Regions from separate parts of the Homo sapiens genome. Here regions 1 and 2 are each linked to region 3. The links are contacts of gene promoters, found by promoter capture Hi-C in human tissues and cell types (Jung and others, 2019). All regions are on one chromosome and are shown on one strand. Each heading gives the region's core, a stretch centred on a gene start or on the middle of the fragment in contact. The rest is flanking DNA. Distances are from core to core; before and after follow the strand shown. Region 1 has its middle 26 kb from the start of STIM2-AS1. Region 2 has its middle 44 kb from the start of STIM2-AS1. Region 3 holds the start of CCKAR (cholecystokinin A receptor).

The links. Contacts are between HindIII fragments. The study calls those that stand out against the background at their distance.
Region 1: a fragment that was not itself captured here is called in contact with the fragment with the promoter of CCKAR in region 3 in 3 of the 25 tissues and cell types used here (IMR-90 fibroblasts, aorta and liver).
Region 2: a contact is called between a fragment that was not itself captured here and the fragment with the promoter of CCKAR in region 3, in 4 of the 25 tissues and cell types used here (H1 embryonic stem cells, aorta, lymphoblastoid cells and 1 more).

What each region holds. Positions count from the first base shown.
Region 1 is chr4:26,832,911-26,836,676 of GRCh38, reverse strand. It overlaps a transcript of TBC1D19 not described here. Among named protein-coding and RNA genes, the nearest start is that of STIM2-AS1, 26 kb to the left of the region's middle. The HindIII fragment of the contact is 7,646 bases long and covers 1-3,766 here.
Region 2 is chr4:26,814,776-26,818,987 of GRCh38, reverse strand. It overlaps a transcript of TBC1D19 not described here. Among named protein-coding and RNA genes, the nearest start is that of STIM2-AS1, 44 kb to the left of the region's middle. The HindIII fragment of the contact is 4,799 bases long and covers 1-4,212 here.
Region 3 is chr4:26,488,785-26,492,786 of GRCh38, reverse strand. It overlaps CCKAR (cholecystokinin A receptor), which reads left to right and starts at 2,303. Exons shown (of 5, transcript NM_000730.3): 1 at 2,303-2,631; 2 at 3,303-3,554. The coding sequence starts at 2,520. The HindIII fragment of the contact is 14,703 bases long and covers 1-4,002 here.

The sequences.
Region 1 (3,766 bases), core at 807-3,306, 340 kb before region 3:
GCAACTTCCAGCAGTCTTCACTCTCAAAACTAGAGCAGGACTCTTCTCTCTGCTGCTGCCTTTGGATTTTCCTCTGGACCCAGCTGGCAAGGGAGCCTAGGAAATGTAGTTTTCAGACACCTGTTCGTACCTCTACAGAGCATAATATAGAAAGGCAGCTGGGGGTGCAGGACAACAGCTCAAAAGCTGGACAAGGGCCCAGTACAAACACTACATATTCCCTGAAGTGTTTCTTGATTCCCACCTCCCTCTGCCCCTCCAACACCATCAGCTTCAAAAGACTTCTCCCTCTTCTCAATTTTGTCCATGGGTCTCTTTGAATTCATTTAAAATACATTTGTTGAGGAACCCCTCTGTGCCAGGCACTGTGCTAGAAGCTGGAAATACAACTATGAGTAAGACAGACTTGGCTGCCATTCTTCTAGAACTTCATGGAGTTTAAAGTCTAGTTGAGGAGACGTACAATTAAATAAGCAATTACAATGTAGCTTGATGAGCATTAAGACAGGGGAGGTCGAAGTGTCAGGGCACATAAGAATGACGTTTAAACCAAACTGGAAGGGTCAGGAAGTGCTTCCAGAGGAAGCCAAAGTCTGAAGCCAAAGAGGCAAGGGCCAGGGAGAAATGCTCTTGATAGAAACAAAATCATGTCCAAAGGCCCAGAAGTGATAGAGAGAGAGAGAGAGAGAGAGAGAGAGAGAGCACTTCACATGCAAGAACCAGAATGCATGTGGTATAGGCAGCATACGTATTTTGAAGGGGAGAACAGGAAAGAAGAGAATGGGGAGAGATAATGGCTAGGGAAGAAAATAGGCATCACAGAACACAAGCCTGGTGAGCCACATCAAAGTTTGAACTTTACCCTAAGGACAATGGGAAGCCATTGAAGGTTTATAGTAGAAACGTGACATGATCAGGTTTTCATTTAGGAAGTTCATGTTGACTTCAGGGCAAAGAATAGGGTGAAGGGAGGCAGGGCAACTATTTAGGAAGGTGCCAGAGAAATCAAGAATAGTGGCTGAGACTAGGTTATGGCAATGGAAAGAAATGGTAGATTCGAGAGGTGTTCAGGAAGGAGAGTGGATGTGTGCACCTGGGAAACGGAGTCAAGGATGGCTCCTACGATTCTGCCTTGCCTTTATGAACTGCATGAACAGAAGTGACACTGCTGAGATCGAAAATGTAGAAGGGTGAGCTTTTGGAAGTGTACTCATTTCTTATTGCTGCTGTAACAAATTATCACAAACTTAGTGACTTAACAGAAATTTATTATCTTATAGGTCTGGATGTCAGCTGTCCATGTGGGTCTCACTGGGCTAAAATCAAGGTGTTGGAATGGCTGCTTCCTTCTGCAGGCTCTAGGGGAGAATCCATTTCCTTGTGTTCTCCGGCTTCTACAGGCTACCTGCATTCCTTGGCTCATGGCCCCTTCCTCCATCTTCAAAGCCAGTAGAGCTGCATCTTCTAAACTCTCTCTATGATTCTGACACTCCTGCCTCCCTCTTATAAGGACACAGGTGATTACATTGGATTCACTCACATAATCCAGGATTATCTTCCCATCAAGATCCTTAACTTATTCACATTTGCCAAGTAAGTCCCTTTTGCCACATAAGACAACATATTCACAAATTTCAGTGATTAAGAGGTGGACATCTTTGGAGGCCATTATTCTGCCTACCACAGGGAGTAAGGGCTAAGGGCTCAAATATCAGTTCAGTTCTACACACATAGAGCTTTGTGAATATGGCACATCCAGGTGGTGATGCTGAGTAGAAAGCATGATAGCTGGGTCTGAACCTTGGGAGCGGGATTTGCTTGACCATCTAAATGTGAGCATCATCAAAGTATAGATGGAATTGAAAACATGAACGTAGATGGGGTCTCCCTGGCAAAATAGTTAAGAGTGAAAAGAAAAGAGGAAAAACCTTGAGAAACATCATCCCTCAATGGATGAGGAGAGAATCCTATGAAGAAGAATGAAAACGAGTAGCCAGAAAGGCAGGAAGGACTGGGGGTGAGTAGTTTTGGTCTCTCTTCAGGACCCCAGAGTCTCCCATCTCCACTTCTTTGCACATCTTTCCTCAAACCAGACCTTCACTATATTGGTGTGTGCACCACCCCCGCCCCCCATAGCCACCAGCCCAGATTGACGATTGTCTTTTATGCCCAATTTAAAATTCCAGGAGAGAAAATCTGATGCCCCCAGCTTGAGTCTAGGCATTGATCCAACCCCCAACACTGTCCATGATACATAATGGGCACTCAATATTTGTTAAATGAATGAATATTTGTTGAATTAATGAAGTCAGAGATTCACCTGTGGCCTAACCAGCTATGACCACAGGGCATTATCATAGAGCACACACATGGCTCTGGGAGACCAACCTGTATTAGTCCATTCTCACATTGCCATAAAGAACTACTGAGTAATTTATAAAGAAAAGAGGTTTAATTGGCTCATGGTTCTGCAGGCTGTACAGGAAGCATGGCTGGGGAGGCCTCAGGAAACTTACAATCATGGCAGAAGGCAAAGGGGAAGCAGGCACATCCTACATGGCTGGAGCAGGAGGAAGAGAAGGAAGGGGGAGAGGGGCCATACACTTATAAACAACCAGATCTCATAAGAACTCACTGACTATCACGAGAACAACAGGGGTAACTCTGCCCCCATGATCCAGTTGCCTCCCACCAGGCCCTTCCTCCAACATCGGGGATTTCCATTTGACATGAGATTTGGGCAGGGACACAGATCCAAACCATATCACCACCTCTGAGTGGGGAAGATTTCTACATAAAAGTATAGGCTGAGCAGACAGCCCAACATATAGCCACAGCTCTAAAGCCTACTTGGTATAATTCCTAGCACAAGGCAGTCATCAGTAAATCTCTGTGAACCCACCTACTGGCTGGGGCTTTGGGAACTCCCTGGCTAGCCACTAAGAGGCAACAGAATGTTTAGCGACACATTGTGTGGAAGTAACAAACCTGCACAAGTTCCATTATCCATGGCAGCTTTTGTAGCACAAGCTTCCTTTACGAACAGCTCCATCTGCTTTAAGATGCTTTAGAAACATTTCAGCTCTAAGAAGCTCCTCTTTGCTTAAGATTTAAATCTCACCTTTACTGCTACTGACTGAATGATTCCATTTATTTGACATTCTGGAAAAGACAAAACTATAGGGACAGTGGTTGCCAAGGGCTGGGGAGTGGCCAGAGGAGTTGACTACCAAAGAGTGCAAGGGAATTTTTGTGTTGGTAGAAATATGACTTCATGACTCTATGTATTTATCAAAACTCATAGAAATATACACTAAAAAGGGTGAATTTACTGCTCCTAAATTATACCTCAATAAAGCTGACGCACACTCCCCAAAAAAGGACCCCTTTCTTCCTGCTGATTCTTGTGTATGCATTGCATCCTTGATTTTTCTGTTGTGCCGTCTTCTAGCTTGGCACTTGTGAAGTCTGATTCCTCATGTCAACCTAAATATATCTGTTACCTGGCAATGTAAAGTCTTTCTTCGCTTGTCTGTGTGTGTGTCTGCAACTACGATTTCACCTCCTTGATGGCAGTGGGCAGAGCTTACTTACATTTTGATTGTTTTCCTTTTGTTGACTCAGCACTCACTGATTTTTATGTGGTATATTTGTTTTTTGTTTTGTTTTGTTTTTGGTTTTTTGAGACAGGGTCTTGCTCTCTCATCCAGGCCAGAGTGCGGTAGCTCAATCTCGGCTCACTACAACCTCCACCTCCTGGACTCAA
Region 2 (4,212 bases), core at 1,147-3,646, 330 kb before region 3:
CACAAATAAGCTAAGCCCTGGGCTTTACCTTGCACCTGACATTAGGAAGGATGCATTTTTCCAGAACAGCTAATTTCCAGATTTTGATAATTATACAGTGGTTATGTCCTTGATTTTAGTACACACACACTGAAGTATTTACGGGTACCTGGGCAACTAAGGTGACCAATTGACTTGGTTTGCCCAAGACTTCTGGGGGTCCTAGATGCAGTACTTTCAATGTTAAAATCAGGAAAGTCCCAGACAAACTGAGAAGAGTTCGTCATTGTAGCCACAACTGACTCTAAAAAGGTTCAGGACAAAAATGTGTGTTTGTGTGTGTAGATATAAAATAAGTGTGGTAAATGTTAACATTTGGGGAATACGAGTAAAGAATCTGTACTCTTCTTGCATCTTTTATATGTCTGAAATTATGTCAAAATTTTACATTGAGGCCAGCCGCGGTGGCTCACATCTGTAATCCCAGCACTTTGGGAGGCCAAGGCAGGCGGACTGTTTGAGCCCAGGAGTTCGAGACCAGCTTGGGCAACATGGTGAGACCTTCCCTTCTCCCTGGCAACTCCCACCCCCATCTCTACAAAAAATACAAAAAATTAGCCAGGCATGGTGGTGCATGCCTGTAGTTTCAGCTATTCAGGAGGCTGAGGAAGGAGAATCATTTGAGCCCAGCAGGACAAGGCTACGGTGAGCACTGATTGTGCCACTGCACTCCAGCCTGGACAACAGAGCAAGACCCTGTCTCAAAAATAAATAAACAAGTAAATAAAAATAAAAATTGAAAGAAAAAATTCCAACACCGTTTGAAGATGTGTTCTCCAAAGCAGCTTTGAACTTGTTTTTTTGTGTTGTGGCAGTACACACAGTGGCCCAGAGTTGGCACTACAAAAAGCAGAGCCCCATTCACATGGCAGGTGCCTGGACTTCAAACCACACCCCCACAGTATCCCAGCTGGAGAACTGGGACTTTGTCTTAGAATACTATTCATATATATATATATATATATATTTTTTTTTTTTTTAAATGGAGTTTCCACTCTTGTTACCCAGGCTGGAGTGCAGTGGCATGATCTTGGCTCACTGCAACCTCTGCCTCCTGGGTTCAAGAGATTCTCCTGTCTCAGCCTTTCAAGTGGCTGGGATTATAGGCACGCACCACCACGCCCGGCTAATTTTTGTATTTTTAGTTGAGACGGGGTTTCACCATGTTGGCCAGGCTGGTCTTGACCTCCTGACCTCAGGTGATCCGCCCACCTCAGCCTCCCAAAGTGCTGGGATTACAAGTGTATGCCACCATGCCCAGCCTAGAATACCATATTTTAGACCCTAAACAAAGTATGAGACCAGTCAGAAAATGAGTGAAATTCAGCTGTTATTGAATCCCTGATTGATTCTGTGCTGGGCACCATGTTGTGCACTTTCCCTCAGCTAAACACTTCCAAACCCCACAGCAACCTGGGGGAGACTGCCTAGCTTCACAGATGCAGGAAAAAAGTGAGTTGTAAAAAAAGTTGAACAGCTCCTCCAAGGGCACGCAACTACCAAGTGGGCAAGGTGGGATCCAAAACCAGCTCTAAATAACTGAAAACAACACTAATGCCTATTAGTGGGGGTTGGTTAAAGGACGTTTGTTGATCCCTTCTGGGGAATATTAAACAGCTGTGTAAAAGTATGAGCTGTTGCTGCCTAAGCTGCCGGCGGGGTGCGGGAGAGGGGGTATCAATGACTGATCATTGAGTCAAGATAGCCAGGCAGCATTCAGTTTGGTTGTGGATTCCATTTAGGCATGTGGGTATGAGTTTAATTTCTACAAGAGTGTATGTGCAAAACTATATGCATACACACACAATTTGTGTTAACAGAAAGGTCAAAGACAAGAGGTCTCTCAAGCTTTAGAGTAAAGAGCATAAGCATCAGCCGGTGAACTTGTTAAAATGCCTGATAGTACATCGCTCTGCTCCTACTAAAGTAGCATAGTGAGGGACCCAGAAGCACGTAGAATCTAGAAGCCCAAAATTCAAGTTATTTTCAGCGGTTTTGTCTCAGAGAGTGGGGATTTTTATTTTTAACTTTAAAAAAATTTCATATGATTGGAATATTTTTGAACAGGCAGGCACCACTTTTATACTACTAAAATGTAGTACACCCAGCTTTTTTTCCATTCTTTAATCTGGAACAGTTCCTCATTCTTTGTCTTTCATGATATTGACATGTATTAGGTTTGTGCAAAAGTAATTGTGGTTTTTGCCATGAAAAGTCATGGTAAAAACTGCAGCTATTTTTGCACCAACTTAATATGTAGAATGCCCCTCATCCTGGGTTTGTTTGATGTTTTCTCATGATTGAATCCAAGTTATTTATTTTTAGCAGGAATCCCACAGAGGTACCTGGTGTTGGTTTATCACATTATCAGGTATATTAACTTTGATCATTTGATTGACGGGATTTCTGCCAGGTTTTTCCACTGTAAATTTACGATTTTCCCCCTTTGGAATTTATATGCATGTTGTGGGGTGATATTTGGGGATTATGCAAATATCCTGTTTTTCATTAAACTCTCCCACTTGTTTTCTTATCCACTGAAAACCTCTGCCAGAATCAGTTATTTTTACAATGGGTTACCCAATGATTGGACTTCTTTTGTGAAAACATTTCACAGTGCAGAATCTTCGTAGGTTTGTGGAGGAGACAGGCAAATCACAGATAATTGCGGTGTAATGTAGCAATTGCTCCATAAAAAAAGTAAAGTGAGGGATGGCAAGCTACAAGCCCCTGGGTAAAATCTAGCCCAAAGCCTGTTTTTATAGGTAAAGTTTTGTTGGAACACAGCCATGCCCATCTTCTCCTTACCTAGTGTCTGTGACTGCCTTTGAACTACAATGGCAGTTGAGAGGTATAACCAAAGGCACGTGATTCACAAAGCCTTATAGGGTTGCTCCCTGGCCCTTAGAAAAAAGTTTCCTGACCCTTGATACAAGGCCTGTGGAGAGAACTCCTCTGAATGGTGCTTCAGTTCTGTGGAACTCACACACAGGGAGCATTCATTCGCTCTGCAGGCCCTCGGGGGGTATTCCAAGGCAGGAGTGTTCCTGAACTAGAACCTAGTCCTATGTAGGCTTTCCCATTTAGGTTAATACGCACACTACAAAGGAGCCATGCCATCTCTTACTTAAAAGAGATTAACTCTGTTTTGTTTAGGTGTAACTATACATTACCGACAAGACAGGAAATTATACCAAGTCAGAATGACTAAATACAATTACTGTAATTAGCCTGACCAAAATCTTTTCATGTCAAGGCACTGACGAGTCCTGTCAGAATGGCCTCTTTTTTTCTAGTACATATTTTGTACAACAAAACTCTGGAGAGGAAGAGCATTTAAACCATTCTCAGAGTGTGTAACATGAACACAGAACCTGTTTTGGCACCAGCCTGGTAAGGGTTATTGGGGAGGTCAAGAGTATCAGTTATTTACATGTGAAATCATGTTTATTTCCAGAATGTGTCTTGTTCACTAAAGTTCCCAACAGGATTAGGCTCAACTGAATGCATTGCTCAGAAAGCTGTGTTTTGTGGTAGTAAGAGGAAGTTCTGGAAAATCAATTAAGAACTCAAGAGTAACTTAATCTTGTTGATTGTTCTCTTCTATGGGGAACACCCATGTAATGCTAGAATGGCCAGCTCCAGGAAAGATCAGCATTTTGGGCCAAGCTTCTGTGATTAAAGGAAAGGAGAGAGTTAAATATATTTCTGGTGAATTTTGGCCACAAAAAGTTGATCTGGATTTTTCTAAAGCCAAAGCCACAATTTCTTATTGGCAAATGCCATCCACAGCAGATTCCTGTTTGACACAGTGTTGGGATGAGAAGGAGAAGATAATTTTAATGAGTGATATAGTTGTTATTAAAAATTATTGCTTTATGCTCTAGGGAAGAATGTGACTTTATTTATTTGGTTTTTTTTTTTTTTGAGACAAGGTCTCACGCTGTCACCCAAGCTGGAGTGCAGTGGTGCAATCATAGCTCACTGCAGCCTCAACTTCCTGGGTCCCGGTGATCCTCCCACCTCAGCCTCCCACATAGCTGGGACAACAGGCGCGTGCCACGACATCCAGATAACTTTCTGAAATTTTGTAGAGACGAGGCTCTTGCCATGTTGCTCAGGCTGGTCTTGAACTCCTGGCCTCAAGTGATCTGCCCACCTCAGGTTCCCAAA
Region 3 (4,002 bases), core at 1,054-3,553:
AGAAAGGAAAGAAAGAGAGAGAGAAAGAAAGGAGGAAGGGAGGGAAGAAAGGAAAGGAAGGAAGGAAGGAAAAGAAAGAAAGAAAGAAAGAGAGAAAGAAAGAAAGAGAAAAAGAAAGGAGGGAGGGAGGGAAGAAAGGAAAGAAAGAGAGAGAGAAAGAAAGGAGGAAGGGAGGGAAGAAAGGAAAGGAAGGAAGGAAGGAAGGAAGGAAGGAAGGAAGGAAGGAAGGAAGGAAGGAAAAGAAAGAAAGAAAGAGAGAAAGAAAGAAAAAGAAAGGAGGGAGGGAGGGAAGAAAGGAAAGAAAGAGAGAGAGAAAGAAAGGAGGAAGGGAGGGAAGAAAGGAAAGGAAGGAAGGAAGGAAGGGAAAGAAAGAAAGAAAGAAAGAGAGAAAGAAAGAAAGAGAAAAAGAAAGGAGGGAGGGAGGGAAGAAAGGAAAGAAAGAGAGAGAGAAAGAAAGGAGGAAGGGAGGGAAGAAAGGAAAGGAAAGGAAGGAAGGAAGGAAGGAAGGAAGGAAGGAAGGAAGGAAGGAAGGAAGGAAGGAAGGAAACTAATTTGCCCAGTATTTCCTAGCAGGTAACCAGTGAAGCCAGGATTTGATCCCAAGTCTGTCTGATGCCAAAGCCTGTCCTCCCAATAACATCCACAGCTTCTCCAGTGTCCCTTCCCCTTCTTGTTTCTGTGACTAAATGCCCCAAACCATGTGGTCTTCATGGTTTCAAAGAAAAGAGGCACCACTGTCTTTCCAGCCCCACACTGACAGTAAAAATGCGTTAGTTCCTCTGTGTCTGGCAGAGACTCAGCAAGATGTAGCATGCAGCTCTGCCAGTGGAAGCATTGTCAGTACACAAGGAGCCCCACGGGTATCTAGCAAATGGACCAAGTCTCAGCACAGCCAAGCAGGGCGTCAGAAACGCAGGTTTCACAGCCATTGTCGTCTGCTTTCCAAAGGGTCTGAACTGAGGACATAATCTGTGCAATGGAGGTTGAAGGGCTTTCCAGCACCACAGAGCTTCATGGAACACCCAGGACCCTGAGATGGCCCCCCTCTCTGATCTCACGTCCTGCTGTTTGCCTCTCACTCACTCCTACTTCTATCTATTTGTACCTCAATGGGGCCACACTCATTCCCACCTCAGGGCCTTTGCACTTGCTGTTACCTCTGCTAAAAGTGCTCCTCCTTTTGCCTGGGAGAAGCTGTCTTGGGATCTTCACAAGACTTTGTCCTTCTTGTGGTTCAGTCTCAGATCACAGTCCCCTCCTTAAGAGACCTCTCCTGACTACCCCTTCTAAATCAGCAGCCCCAGGCCAGGTGCAGTGGCTCACGCCTGTAATGCCAACACTGGGAGGCCAAGGCAGGAGGATTGCTTGAGCTCAGGAGCTTGAGACCAGCCTGGGCAACATAGCGAGACCTCCTCTCTTCTAAAACTAAAAAAATCAGCTGGGCTTAGTGGTGTGTGCCTGTAGTCCCAGCTACTCAGGAGGCTAAGGTAGGAGGATTGCTTGAGCCAGGGAGCAAGGCTGCAGTGAGCCATGATCGCGCCACTCCACTGCAGCCTGGGGAACAGAGCAAGACCCTGTCCCCGCCCCCCAAAAAATCAGCCCCTAATCTGTTTGTATACATCACATCTCCCTGCTTTACTCCCTTTGTAGTACTTACTACCTGAAATAATTCTGCTCATTATTTGCTGACATGCTAGAAAAGTGCCTGGCAAATGATTGACTCTCAATGAAGATGTGCTGAATGCAAGGCTTCATGAATGAAGAGGAAATCTCACTAACGTCTTTTGTAATAAGGACCCAGGTACCTATGTTCAAAAGTGCCTCAATCCTAGTTAACAAGGGCAGAGACCACGAGAAACAACACTGTGTTTAGTAGCAACTTAACAACCAGCCAGCAGTTCTGTCCACACACACACCACCGGGCATGGTTCCAAAGCTAAAAAGGCACTAATTGCTTTTCTATAAGGAGGTAGAACACAGTCCCTCCGTGTTCTTTAGGCCTGATGGTCTGCATTATCGGATCTGTTACCGTGTTAATTGTTCCTGTCTCACACAGCCGGTTTGGGCTTTCTTCTGCATATGTCTGGGATGGTGACGGGTTCCTATATAGAGGAGTACTGGGGAAGCCTCTGTGTGTGTGTGTGTGTCCGTGCATATGTACACATGTGTGTAAAAAGCAGCCACACGCTGAGAATGGTTAACGGGTAGCCAGGCTGTCTGTACTCAGGGCCCTAAGACTGGCCCAGGAAAGGGCCGGGGGAGGTGGGGCGGGGTGAAGGTGGAGCGGGCTTGGCTTGTGCTCACTGCCTTTTCCACAACAGGAGTACAAATGCTGGAGTGAGTGAGGTGAACTCAAGTCGCCTTTAGGAATGGCTGAAAAAGCCCACACCTGGAAATCACTCCCTCCCTGCTCCTCCACGGCAGGTTGCATCTGCGAGACGCTTCGGTCATTAGAGGAATGAGCCGGGAGTGAGCAATTCACCAGCTCTCCAGCACTTGGTGGAAAGCAGCAGGCAAGGATGGATGTGGTTGACAGCCTTCTTGTGAATGGAAGCAACATCACTCCTCCCTGTGAACTCGGGCTCGAAAATGAGACGCTTTTCTGCTTGGATCAGCCCCGTCCTTCCAAAGGTAAGTGTCGGAAGCTGTTATTTTAATTCAGGAAACTATTGAGTTGTGGGAGAAATCAGCAAAGGCAAGGCTGATAAAAAATATATATAACCAAGTCATTGTGAGACAAGGCTAGATAAAGTCATATGTTCAGAAGTTTGGAGAAGAGATTAAAAAGCAGAATAGAGTCAAATATTCTTATTGTCCCCCATGGGGGAGTTGGGCATTCATGAATAGGACTTGGGGGAACAAAAGCAGGGGAGGAAAAGCTGAGTGAAGCAAGAGGGACTACAAGTGTCAAAGCCTGAACTTACAAGCACAGCAGAAAAGGTGTTGTCACCATGCAGCTGTTTTCTTTTCTTGGGGGGAAACCCAGCATGAAGTGATTAAAGTGAAATAATGCTTAGCAGCCAGGAAAGAAAGTGATCACTGTTCACTTGAGGAGCTTTGTTCTTAAGAAAAAGTGGTTCCCTGAGTGATCCTTTAACAAACCAACCTTCTAAAAAGAAAATAATTCAGTCTCTGCTTTCCTCAATTTGTTTCCGCAAAATGTTGCCAGGACAGGAATCGTGGGTCCAGTGATGTACACCCCGGTGGGGGGAAAATCGGCAGGAATTCACCCTTGGCTTCGGTTTTAGCATTCTGCTGTCATCACCTCCATCCCTCCGTCTTGCTCCTGTTTCTCTCTGCAGAGTGGCAGCCAGCGGTGCAGATTCTCTTGTACTCCTTGATATTCCTGCTCAGCGTGCTGGGAAACACGCTGGTCATCACCGTGCTGATTCGGAACAAGCGGATGCGGACGGTCACCAACATCTTCCTCCTCTCCCTGGCTGTCAGCGACCTCATGCTCTGTCTCTTCTGCATGCCGTTCAACCTCATCCCCAATCTGCTCAAGGATTTCATCTTCGGGAGCGCCGTTTGCAAGACCACCACCTACTTCATGGGTAAGTTGCTGCTGGTGACTCTTTCTGGAGCTTGCCCCAGACCCCACTCAGCCCCAGACCTTCCCAAACCTCTGACAATCACAGCAAAGGAGCCCTGCTGAGGGCTGAATCACAGAACATCAGGCTGTGCATGGCTGTGTGCACGGACATTGGTGCTGGCTTGACAGTCATCCTTATACGTTCCCCACAAGTCGGTCCCCATCATCCATGTTGGAGGTCAGTTTCTAAGAGTGAAATAAATTGATAGGAAAACACAGGGGCAGTTGATTTTGCTTGCTTCTATTTGAAGGGAAGAGGGACTTGCTTGCTTCTGTTTGAAGTCAGAAGTGACTTTAAGCTGCTCTATCCCTTTCTGGAAGCTGTTGACTGTGTCCTGATCTATACACAACTTGAGTCCTGGCTTCTAGGGAGGGTGAGGATGATGGAGGAGGGTTCTTTGCAGTTGTTT